Regions from separate parts of the Homo sapiens genome. Here all the other regions are linked to region 2. The links are contacts of gene promoters, found by promoter capture Hi-C in blood cells and fetal thymus (Javierre and others, 2016). All regions are on one chromosome and are shown on one strand. The core of a region is centred on a gene start or on the middle of the fragment in contact, and the rest is flanking DNA. Distances in the headings are between cores, read along the strand shown.

Region 1 (3,643 bases), core at 419-2,918, 6.7 Mb after region 2:
TATCACTGAATTTATTTTCTTAGATTGGTAAAGTCTCTGATTTTGACCTAACTTTTTTAGTATTAAATTATACTTAAAGAATCAGAGATATATGTTAAATATTTTTCTTCCTTTGACATTTGCCTGAAGCCTTTTTGAAGCAGTCTCATTGTAGGAAGATATTGAATATTGTCTCCTCTCTTTTGATAGTCAGGACAGAGTGACTTGGAGAAGTGCAGATGAACTCCCGTGGCTTTTTCAGCAGCAGGGAAGTAAACAGAAGCTGCATGATTGCCTTCTTAATCTCTTTGTGTCTCAAAACCTTTATAAAAGGTAAGAAACATTATAGAACATCTTTCCCCAGAAAGAGAGATTTAAAGTTGTTCAGTTTAACAAAGAAAAAATGGTATTTTTAATTTAAAAATTAGTCTAAGTATCTGAAATACAAATAGTGTAGGAGAAATCTTGAGACAATTTACAAATCTCTATTAGATCTGCTTTTCCCAAGAGGAAAACATAGAGTACTGCTGCTTTATGAAATCAGAGCTGGAATGATTTCGGTTCAACTTTTTATCTTATGCTTACATTTAAGCATGTCTAAATTTAAACCACTCAGAGAGGTGGTTCGTAATGTCTGCTTCTTTGGGCCTTCAGATATCTGAAAGCGTAGCCTTCAAACCAGACTCGGGTCCAAGTAGAATCTGTCTGGTGTTGAATTTATTTGTTTTTGTTTGTTTGTTTACTTTCTATGTCTGGTGTTGAATTTAAAGAAAGAATTACCCTAATTCAAAAATGTATTCTGTTTGTCTCTTTTGATATGTTATAGTTTGTCAGTGGCAGAACTACCTTTTTATGAGGCAACTGTCTAACCTACTAAGCTTCATGAGGGTTTTTTTCTGCCTTACTTAGAGATTTAGACATTTCTTATACAATAAGTATCATAATTTATTTTGCTCCTACATAAACTCTCTCAAATTTGTTGCATCTCTTATTTCTGATCTCCATTCCAATTTTTCATGATTCCTTTGAAATCAGATATTTTTTAGTTTACCAGCCCCATACTACTTAAGATCGCCTACAGATGAATAAGCTTACTTTTGTCATTCAATTTCTTGATGAAAATACAAAGTAGATACTCTGTGACAGTTTATTTTTTATTAGTTTCTTCTCTTTGAATTTCCATACTTAAAATAATTTTGGGAGTGAACTCAGTGGTTGGCTCCATATTGTGAAATGTGTAAAAAGGATTCAGATAGATTCCCATTGGTAAGTAGCCATGATGGTATTAAGGATAACAGCCAACACCGTGGAGTACTTACTGTGTGCCATAATCCCCCTACAGTACCAGCTGAGGCAGGTAGTGTCTCCATTTCTGCAGATGAAGGTGATGAGGTCTAAGAGGTCAGATAACCTGCTCAAGATTACATAGCTAGGATAGTGGTGGAATTCAGATAGTGAGTGGTCTGAGTCTTACCTCATTACACAGTACTCGCCTACTAATAAATTGTCAATAACTTGATATTAATTCTGGAGTTTTGATTCTGTAATGGATTTTAAAGTGTGTTTTTCATTAAAGTACTGTTATTTGTTGAAACAGGGGACACTTTGCTGAGTTGCTGAGTTATTGGCAGTTTGTTGGCAAAGACAAAAGTGCAATGGCAACAGAATACTTCGATTCATTGAAGCAGTATGAGAAAAACTGCGAAGGCGAGGACAACATGAGTTGCTTAGCTGATCTTTATGAAACCTTGGGGCGATTTCTCAAGGATCTAGGCCTTCTCAGTCAGGTAAGCTCAGCAGATCAATGGCAAGCCAGAGACAGGTGGGATTTTTGTGTTCACTCTTCTCTTTTTCCAAGATGTTAATGTGGTTTTCATTTGTTGTGCTATAATCCTTAATATTTAATCAGATGACAGATCTTGCAGCATTTCACTCACTTTAACTGGCCTTTCACCCCTTTTCCCCCCAGGCCATAGTACCTTTGCAGAGGTCTTTAGAGATTCGAGAAACAGCTTTAGATCCCGATCACCCAAGAGTAGCCCAGTCCCTCCACCAACTAGCAAGTGTATACGTGCAGTGGAAGAAGTTTGGCAATGCAGAACAACTGTATAAACAGGCGTTGGAAATCTCAGAAAATGCTTATGGTGCGGACCATCCATATACTGCTCGTGAACTTGAAGCACTTGCAACTTTGTACCAGAAACAAAATAAGTAAGATTTTTTAGATCAGTAATACCTGATTTTATGCAGGGGGATTACAGTTTTAGTGTACTTATAGGGTAAGCTTTGTTTTATCACTGTGTACTTTTCCTTACCCTGTGCCTAGTCTTCATGTGGTAAACAGAGAAAATGAGAACTATAAGATTCATCTCTGTTTGAAGATGCATGAAGGATAGAACATGGACTTTCGAGTCATATAGTCTTGGGTTTGAATCCTGGCTCATTCACTGACTAACTTTGAGTGCTTTACTAATATAGGTTTAGTATCCTTTATCCAAATGTGGAACCAGAAATGTTCAGGATTTTGGATTTGTTCAGATTTCAGAATATTTGCATATATATAATGAGATATCTTGGGGATGGGACCCAAGTCTAAACATGAAATGTATTTTTCATATACACCTTATACACATAGCCTGAAAGTAATTTTGTGTACTAGTTTTAATTTGTGCATAAAACACAGTTTTGACTGTGGCTTGAGTTGACCCATCACTTGAGGTCAGGTGCAGAATTTTCCACTTGTGGCATCATGACAGCACTCAAAAAGCTTCTGATTTTGGAGCATTTCAGAATTTGGGTTTTCAGATTAGGGATGTTCAACCTTTATGGGGCCAGCAAACCATTGCCCATAGGCCAAGTCCAGTTGTGTAAATAAGGTTTAAAGGGAACACAGCCAAATTTTTTTCATGTATATATTATCCATGGTTGCTTCTGTGCTTCAGTGGCGGAGTTCCTCACTTGGAACAGAAAGCACACGGCCCACAAAGCCTAAAATATTAACTCTCTAGCCCGTTATAGAAAAAGCCAATCTCTGGTATAATAAAAAGTCTTTCTTATCTATCAGGCACCCAATGAATGGCATCTCTTCCTCTATTAAAAATTATTTCTTTTGCTCTATCATAAGTGATACATAATGGAATTTTTTAACTTATAGAAGTATTGCTTCGTACAAATTTTGTGTGAATTTCACATTTAAACTTGACCAGAAATTAGCCTGTGCAGAAAAAGTTGTTAATTAAAAATTATTAGTGTGCTATAGAAAACTGAAATTTTGACTTTTCATTTAGTTAGGTTGCCCTTCAGAGACTTAGGATGAGTTAAATTAGTTAAAGATGATCAGATGTCAGCTACTTAAAGGACTAGACTTGCTTTGTTTTGTCAAAATTTTTTTAATTGAACAGAACTTTTTATTAGAAAAACATCCATGATAGACTAAGATATCTTAGTGTTTTGTCATATTTTGTTTTATGAAAGGGTTTTTAGAGATTCTTAATGTCATGACTATCATTTCTAGAAAAAATGCTGTATTTAATAGCCCAAAAAGACTTTACACTATGAAAAGAGTGCTTTCATTTCACTGAAGTATACTTTGAATATGTTTCTTTTGTTTGACTTACTGTAATTTTTTTTTAAGATATGAACAAGCTGAACATTTTAGGAAAAA
Region 2 (3,661 bases), core at 700-3,199:
TGAGGGTTCAGGCCCGCAACACCAGCTAGGTAGACCCTTAGGTGGCCCAGTGGTATACAAAGATTTAAGCATTCCCAGCTGAGCCCCTTGACAATAGAGATACATCATTTTATTTTGTATCACTTAGTACTGTGCCAAATCCAAAAATACTCTCTCAAGTGCAAGAGTATTCAGGAGTTAGAAATATTGAAAGTTCCACTATTCAAGCAAATTAGGTATAGTTCATATAATTTTTTCAACTCAGGATCCTCAGTCACTCCATAGAGTAAGCAAAGTATGCAATTACTAGAATTATTAGTCTCAATTTACATAAGATCACACTGCTGGCACTAAACTCCAGTTCCAGACTCTTTTTTCCACTATTGAATGCCACAGAAACATAAAAAAAAAAAAAATGGAAGGATCTTTAGAAACCATGTAGCTGGATTTTTTTTAAGATGATGAAAACTGAGGCCCATGAAGAGAGTCACATTAGCTCAAGGCTCCTACTAAAGCCAAATAATTTCGTGCAAAATCATCTCCCTCTGATTATCATTATCTACACACACAAATACATAATTTTTCTTTTTGCCTTTCTGAAAATCTGGAGGTCTGAAAAGACTTTAAGATTTCTCTCAAGTTAAAAATACACGTTTGTACGTGTAACCAGAGGGCAAGTTTTCTATGGTCCACATGTTTTCTTAAAAAAAAAAAAAAAAAGGAAATACAGGAGATGTGCAGTGCGTGTGACAGGCAAATGTTCTCGAACTTTATTGTGTAGTGTAACCCCTATGGCACAGGCCCTTAGAATTCAGCCACATTAATGAAGAGATATTTTTATGTAGTAGAAAGAGCACAAACTTTGAGGTGTTTTGTTTTGAGACAGAGTCTTGCTCTGTTGCCCAGGCTGGAGTGCAGTGGCGCGATCTCAGCTCACTGCAACCTCCACCTCCTGGGTTCTAAGCGATTCTCCTGTCAGCCTCTGGAACAGCTTGGATTACAGGCGCCCGCCACCACGCCAGGCTAATTTTGTATTTTTAATAGAGACGGGGTTTCACCATGTTGGCCAGGCTGGTCTCGAACTCCTGACCTCAGGTGATCCACCCGTTTCGGCCTCCCAAAGTGCTGGGATTACAGGCGTGAGCCACCGCGCCCGGCCCAACTTTGAGGTTTTATCTGCCACTTACTATGCAGTCTTGGCTAGAACACTTAACTTCTTTGAGCCCGAGTTTCCTCATCATTAAATGGAGATAATTCAGGTTTGATGTGAAGATTTGAGAAGAAGGTATGTCTGACACACTGCCGAAGATCGATAAATATTTGTTGAATGAATAACACAGCCAGCCGAAGCTCAACAAAAGACACATACACAAACACACCCACACGGTTGGGTAGTTGCCGTCTCCCGGGGAGCTCCAGAAGTGTAAGCTCTCAGCCCTCCCTCTGACTTCAGAAGCCTGAAGCTACTAAGCCCGCAGCCCGGTGCGTCTCTTCGCAGCCTTAATCAGTGCCCGGGCAAAGGCCTGCAGAGAATTCTCTGGGCCTCGCACCAGGCCCCAAGAACACACTGGAGACTCGTTTCGCCTTCTCCCTCGCCGTTTCCCCCCTCCAGGGCCAGAGTCCGAGGAAGCCCGATAGCGGTTCTCGGCCTCCGAAACACAACTACAACACTGGGGAGCTTGCCCTGCAGTTAGCGTCCAGCGGGGATTAGGCACTTCGTTTTCCTCATCGTTTCAATCTCTATCTTCTGGTCGGGGTCCAAGCTCAGCGGCACCACGTCACGGCCCTTAGTGGTCTAGGCCACACCCCTCCTTCCCGACAGCCTCAAGTCCACTACCAGCGGTCTGGAAGGCCACGTTGCCTAGGAAACTGGGGCGGGGCTTGGGAAACGACGGCCCTGCGCGCAGTTTGCGCAGGCGCTCCGGCCCTGGCCTCTGACTATCGCGAGAATCGGCTCCCGGAAGTTCCACGTCAGTCAGTCTGACGGTCAGTGGATCGGTGGGTTTATCTCAAGGCCTGAGTAGCCGGTAACAAACGAGGGTTCCCGGGATTGGACCGACGCAGCCATGGTAGGTCCAGATCCCGTAGAAGGGAGCGGGGTCCCATAGGTTACGGCCGATTCCTGGAGCTTCTGGACTGAGGGCCGCGGTAAGCAGTGGTCTGGGCTCCCGCTGCGGCCGCCGCCTCAGGCCTTGCGGGGTCTTGGTCGTTTGATTCCAGGAAGGGAGAAGGCGGTGGGGCCTAGGGGACCGGGGTGATTTGGGGAGGCAAAGCCTGCTAGTGAGGGGTTTTGTCTCCCCTGGCGCTTGTGGCGCTTGCCAGAGCTCCTGCAGTCTGCAGCGGGATCGGTGGTGTAGGGAAACACAGAAGCCGAATGTGTTGAACTCCGTAGGAGGCTTTGGTAAAACTAAAGTTTGCCTTTAAAACGGTGGTAGTTAATCTACACTCCTGTTGGGCTTATTCTGGGGATAGTGTGTGCTGGCTACAAACTATAAACAAGCAAAGAAGCCAAAAACAAATGTATATGGAGTCAAAAATGGAATTTCAAATGCTTTGATATCTCAGCTGTTAGGTTTCTAAGGGGAGAAGAAGGGTTGGGAGGAAGGGGGTGCTGTTTATAACACTGGCTGGTGTGCTTTTATGCATTTGCAAATCCAGTGGCTGGTAAGAATAGTAATTGTTAGAGCACTTTGTTATTATCACCGTAACCCTAAAAAACGCCCTAGACTAGTTTGCACAAGAGTGTTATAATAATAAGGAAAGAAAACGATAGTATAAGAATATCTTCCGTCTCTATTGAAAATGCAAAAAAAAAAAAAAGAAATTAGCCGGGCGTGGTGGCGGGCCCCTGTAGTCCCAGCTACTCAGGAGGCTGAGGCAGGAGAATCGCTTGAACCCGGGAGGCAGAGGCTGCAGTGAGCCGAGGTCGCACCACTGCACTCCAGCCTGGGACAGAGCAAGACTCCGTCTCAAAAAAAAAAAAAAAAAAACTTGTTATGAAGCACAGAATCAAACATTTTGGAGCTTGAAGACGCTAGGGATTAAGTCCCTCATCTTAAGTTAAAAAATTTTTTTAAATTATGTTTCTACAAGGTTAATTGTGGCAAAGTTGGAACTAGGAAAAAGTTAGGAATACTCCCAGGGAAAATGCACAGAGAAACAAACATTTTTGCATAAAATTCAGTGCATTCATTCACAGACACCCCCCCCCACAATCCATGGACCTTCTTTTTTTTTTTAATTTGTTTTATAAAAAATATGGAACGCTTCACGGATTTGCGTGTCATACTTGCGCAGGGGCCACGCTAATCTCCTCTCTATGTGCTGCCGAAGCTAGCACTATCCGTGGACTTTCTTGGGCACCCAGGTTACAGTCCCTGAACAAGACCTCAAGCCTCTTAATTAGAGCACTTCGTATTACTAACTACCTGATGTAGTTTGGGTCTGCTGTGGTTGCAGTAATGGACGTTTTTGGAAAAGGCTCTTGGATCTGCCTAATTTCATTTTCTTTTGCCGTCTTTACATTTACCAGTGTATTTCTATAATGAAATATTGCCTTCATTCTTTATATATTTTAAATCCTTTGTGGAAAATACAAAACGTGAATTCATTCATTTGTACATTTACCATAGAATATTTAGTGTCTGCCATGCACTTTGCTAAACATGGCTGCCTAATTCTC
Region 3 (3,898 bases), core at 1,292-3,791, 6.7 Mb after region 2:
TACGCTAAAAGCAATTATTGCATGCCCTCCATGTAGCAGGTCCATTATAATTCAATAAAATAGTATGTAAAGCAGCCGGGCGTGGTGGCTCACGCCTGTAATCCCAACACTTTTCGAGGCCTAGGCGGACGGATCACCTGAGGTCAGGAGTTCGAGATCAGCCTGGCCAACATGGTGAAACCCCGTCTCTACTAAAAATACAAAAATTAGCCGGGCATGGTGGCACGCGCCTGTAATCCCAGCTACTCAGGAGGCTGAGGCAAGAGAATTGCTTGAACCCGGGAGGCGGAGGTTGCAGTGAGCCGAGATTGCACCATTGCACTCCAGCTTGGGTGACAGAGCGAGACTCCGTATCAAAAAAAAAAAAATAGTATAAAGCAAGAGGTTGCTTTTCTGTGAACGAATCTCTAAAACTTTTTGCCCTCAGTTTGGGGCCCCTCTGGTCGTTGTTGTGTCGTTTGTGTACTCTTTACTGTGGGAGAGACTTATAGGCAGCCTAAGAGTTCCCGGAGTCGTTACAGTCGGGGTGAAATAAATACCTCAGACTGATTTTTCTAAAAGAAAAAAAGCCTCCTGTCTTCAAGACTAGACATTCTTCTAGTCAGGTTTTGTTGTTGTTGTTGTTGTTGTTTTTGTTTTTAAACTCCCTCATTAGCTGTTGTGTAATTATTGTCGTTGTCTGGGAAGAAGTCCGTGTAGCAGTTTATCTGTTGTCTTATCAGTTTTCCTACTGGGCAACCTTAATGCACTTGCATGTATAAAATGGACTAGTGCATTTCAAATATCTGATTCAATGTATCCAAGCCACTGCCCAACAGACACCGCACGTTGGAAACAACTGTGAGGTGGGGGTAGAAAAGGCCAAACCAAACAGGGCGGAGTGCAATAAGGGTTGGCAAGTGTCACAGTCACTCATGTCACCAATCCTGATTCCCTGTGAAACATACTGGTTCCTTTCTCACATATCGAGGCATGAAAAAACTTATCCATATTTATTTCATTCATTGTGTCAGACATTTACTGGAGACTTGCAGTGTACCAGGCACTGTGAAGTGCTCAAGGGATGGTGAGATGAATAAGACATAGTGCCAACAGGCACACAGTCTCTTAGAACTACTTATCCTTCAAGTTAAGCCTTACAAAATGTAATTTTTACTATCACAAAGATGGAAAAGGCATAAGGAAGTTTAAGAGCTGATGCAGTGTTTCAAAAAAAGTTAATTTCCATTGAAAGCTTAATGTTGGTCTTTATTTGTGGTAGTTCAAGCATGGTTGCGGTTTTTTTCCATCATGTTTTGAATAAAATGGCAACATGAAGTTCCTGATAATTGGTAAAATAATAAGTAGACTTAAAATTCTAAGATACGTAACATATATATATATATATGTATATATATAAGAATGTAAAATTGAGGAGCAAGACTATTTTTGTTAGGAAATAACAAGGTAAATTATTCTAGGCACTTCAAAAAACGTATCAGAAGATACTTCGAGAAAAAGAAAGTGCTTTAGAAGCGAAATACCAAGCAATGGAGAGAGCAGCAACATTTGAACATGACAGAGATAAAGTTAAAAGGCAATTCAAGGTAAATTCCTTACATTTTTACCCCCAAAGCAACATAGAATAAAATAGTATATTCTAAAAGTATATATAATATATAATGCGATGAATAAATAGAAGTAAGTCATGTAGGATTCAGGAAAGTTGTAAGAATTAGTGTAGAGCACTTTCACATTTTTGAGTTGGACGTGGTAAACTTGAGATCATTTCAAAGAAAAACGTATGAAAGTGAACATTTTAATAGTAATTTCGAAAAAAAGGAAAGCGTTTCCATATGGGGAAAAGCATTTGGAAATGTTTAGGGATGTTGTATTATTGGTATTTAGTGGGAGAGAGACAAATTTCCTAAACATCATGCAGTGCACATGACAGACCCACACCACAGACACGCATCCTGCTGGAATTCCAGTGGCTTCCAGTTGCAAAACAGTAAGGTAAAGGTACTAGGACATTCACCCTATGAAAGAGGAAATCGAGGACCAAATGAATATTGGTTTTATGAATGAAATATTTTTCCCTTAAAGTTGATGACACAACTTTTTGATTATGAAAAAGCTTTCAACATTAAAATTATTCTTTTTAAAGATTTTTAGGGAGACCAAAGAAAATGAAATTCAGGACTTACTGAGGGCCAAGAGGGAGTTGGAGAGCAAACTTCAGAGGCTACAGGCTCAGGGTATCCAAGTATTTGATCCTGGGGAGTCTGATTCAGATGACAACTGTACAGATGTCACTGGTAAGTGTATATCCTATTTATATTTTGAGCTTTCAACATGGCTGTAATGACATGTAGAGCCAACTTTGAATTCTGCTAGATTTCTTTTACTTATCTATATTAGGTTATTGCTTTAACTACTGTTGCAAATAGTGTCGTGTGTTCTCTCTGTCAGCTGCTAAGACACCTCTTCTCCACGAAGTGTATGAATTTGGGGACTGAAGTTCCTTCTACCTTGTCACTCTGCCAACCCTAACCCATAACTTTTACTCTCTAGTCTAAGATATCTACCCCAGCTCCCACCAGCACATCTGCATTTTAGCCAAGGGAAAGAAGGAAGGGGAGAACACGTTCCTTTCCCAGAAGGTACAACCTAAGATCACTTCTCAAATCCCATTAGTCAGAACTATAACTGGGAAGACTGGATAGTGTAATCAGCAGCCAGGCAGACATGTGTCCAACTAAAATGTAGTGTTCTGTTACTGAAGAAAGAAGAGGAGAATGGATATTGGAGTTACTAGTCTCTGCAATGTTATTTCTTTACATAATGATGTATTCTTTGCAACTATCATTTAGAATACTTGCCTTATAGTTCACTGAGTGGTTTCCAGTATAGCCTTGTGAACTATTCAAAAAGTATTTGTTTTATAATTAAACAAATGAAACATGTTTTCTGGAAATAAAAGCTTGAAATCACAGAGTGAAAGGGTTTACATATTCTAAGAAAATGTTAAAGTGTGATTGATACTGAAAAAAGAAAAATATTCTATTTTAAAATGCAGTGGAAAAATGTAGTCACTCTCCCATTTGTAATGAACTGTAAGTATATTCTCACAAATGGATGCATTTTGGAGTAAAATATGGTAACTGACAGTTCCTTCTTAATTTTCATTGTAGTATCATTGGAATCTGACCAACATCCTGGAATTTTTATTGCTAACTTTTAAGGAAAAAAAATGAAGGCCGGGCACGGTGGCTTATGCCTGTAATACCAGCACTTTGGGAGGCCAAGGCGGGCGGATCACGAGGTCAAAAGATCAAGACCATCCTGGCCAACATGGTGAAACCCCGTCTCTACTAAATACAAAAATTAGCTGGGCATGGTGGTGCGTGCCTGTAGTCCCAGCTACTCGGGAGGCTGAGGCAGGAAAATCACTTGAACCCAGGAGGTGGAGGTTGCAGTGAGCCAAGATCGCGCCACCGCACTCCAGTGTGGCAACAGAGCCAGACTCATCTCAAAAAAAAAAAAAAAAAAAAAAAAAGATTCTTAATGGCCAAGAGTAGCTGAGAAAATGCTCTTTTATACCCCAACACAAGTCTTAGTGATTATTTCAGTATTGACATACTCAAATGTACAGTGTTTCAAAACTATTGTAATTGTCTTGGCAAGTTAGAAACAAATTCCTTTCTAGGTCTTTTTTCATTTTTGTTTTAAACATGAAGAAGGAACACTTGAGGGGGAATGTCACCCATGTGAGATTCAAAGAGCTACAAATAGTAAGCTCAGTTTTGCCAGAGATTTAGCTCAAATAACCATTTACTTAAGGTTATCAAGGATGTAGATATTCTGACAAATATAATTGATTAGAAAATCATCATGTTCATAAGTAGCTATTGATTCA

What was found. Contacts are between HindIII fragments. The CHiCAGO score rates a contact against its expected background, and 5 or more counts as called.
Region 1: a fragment that was not itself captured here is called in contact with the fragment with the promoter of COPB2 in region 2 in 1 of 17 cell types (M2 macrophages); the score reaches 6.2 in M2 macrophages.
Region 3: a contact is called between a fragment that was not itself captured here and the fragment with the promoter of COPB2 in region 2, in 1 of 17 cell types (total B cells). The highest score is 6.4, in total B cells.

What each region holds. Positions count from the first base shown.
Region 1 is chr3:132,687,197-132,690,839 of GRCh38, reverse strand. NPHP3 (nephrocystin 3) reads left to right here. Exons shown (of 27, transcript NM_153240.5): 19 at 190-312; 20 at 1,577-1,766; 21 at 1,949-2,190; 22 at 3,614-3,643. It overlaps NPHP3-ACAD11 (NPHP3-ACAD11 readthrough (NMD candidate)), which reads left to right. Exons shown (of 45, transcript NR_037804.1): 18 at 190-312; 19 at 1,577-1,766; 20 at 1,949-2,190; 21 at 3,614-3,643. Among named protein-coding and RNA genes, the nearest start is that of UBA5, 29 kb to the right of the region's middle. The HindIII fragment of the contact is 1,194 bases long and covers 1,072-2,265 here.
Region 2 is chr3:139,387,935-139,391,595 of GRCh38, reverse strand. COPB2 (coat protein complex I subunit beta 2) reads left to right here and starts at 1,949. Exons shown (of 22, transcript NM_004766.3): 1 at 1,949-2,048. The coding sequence starts at 2,046. COPB2-DT (COPB2 divergent transcript) reads right to left here and starts at 1,793. Exons shown (of 5, transcript NR_121609.1): 1 at 1,663-1,793. It also overlaps the pseudogene LOC124906339. RefSeq lists enhancers at 1,112-1,221, 1,101-1,663, 1,432-1,731, 1,664-2,225, 2,022-2,271. The HindIII fragment of the contact is 7,530 bases long and covers 1-3,661 here.
Region 3 is chr3:132,717,393-132,721,290 of GRCh38, reverse strand. NPHP3 (nephrocystin 3) reads left to right here. Exons shown (of 27, transcript NM_153240.5): 2 at 1,461-1,586; 3 at 2,147-2,297. It overlaps NPHP3-ACAD11 (NPHP3-ACAD11 readthrough (NMD candidate)), which reads left to right. Exons shown (of 45, transcript NR_037804.1): 2 at 1,461-1,586; 3 at 2,147-2,297. Among named protein-coding and RNA genes, the nearest start is that of NPHP3-AS1, 2.4 kb to the left of the region's middle. The HindIII fragment of the contact is 846 bases long and covers 2,119-2,964 here.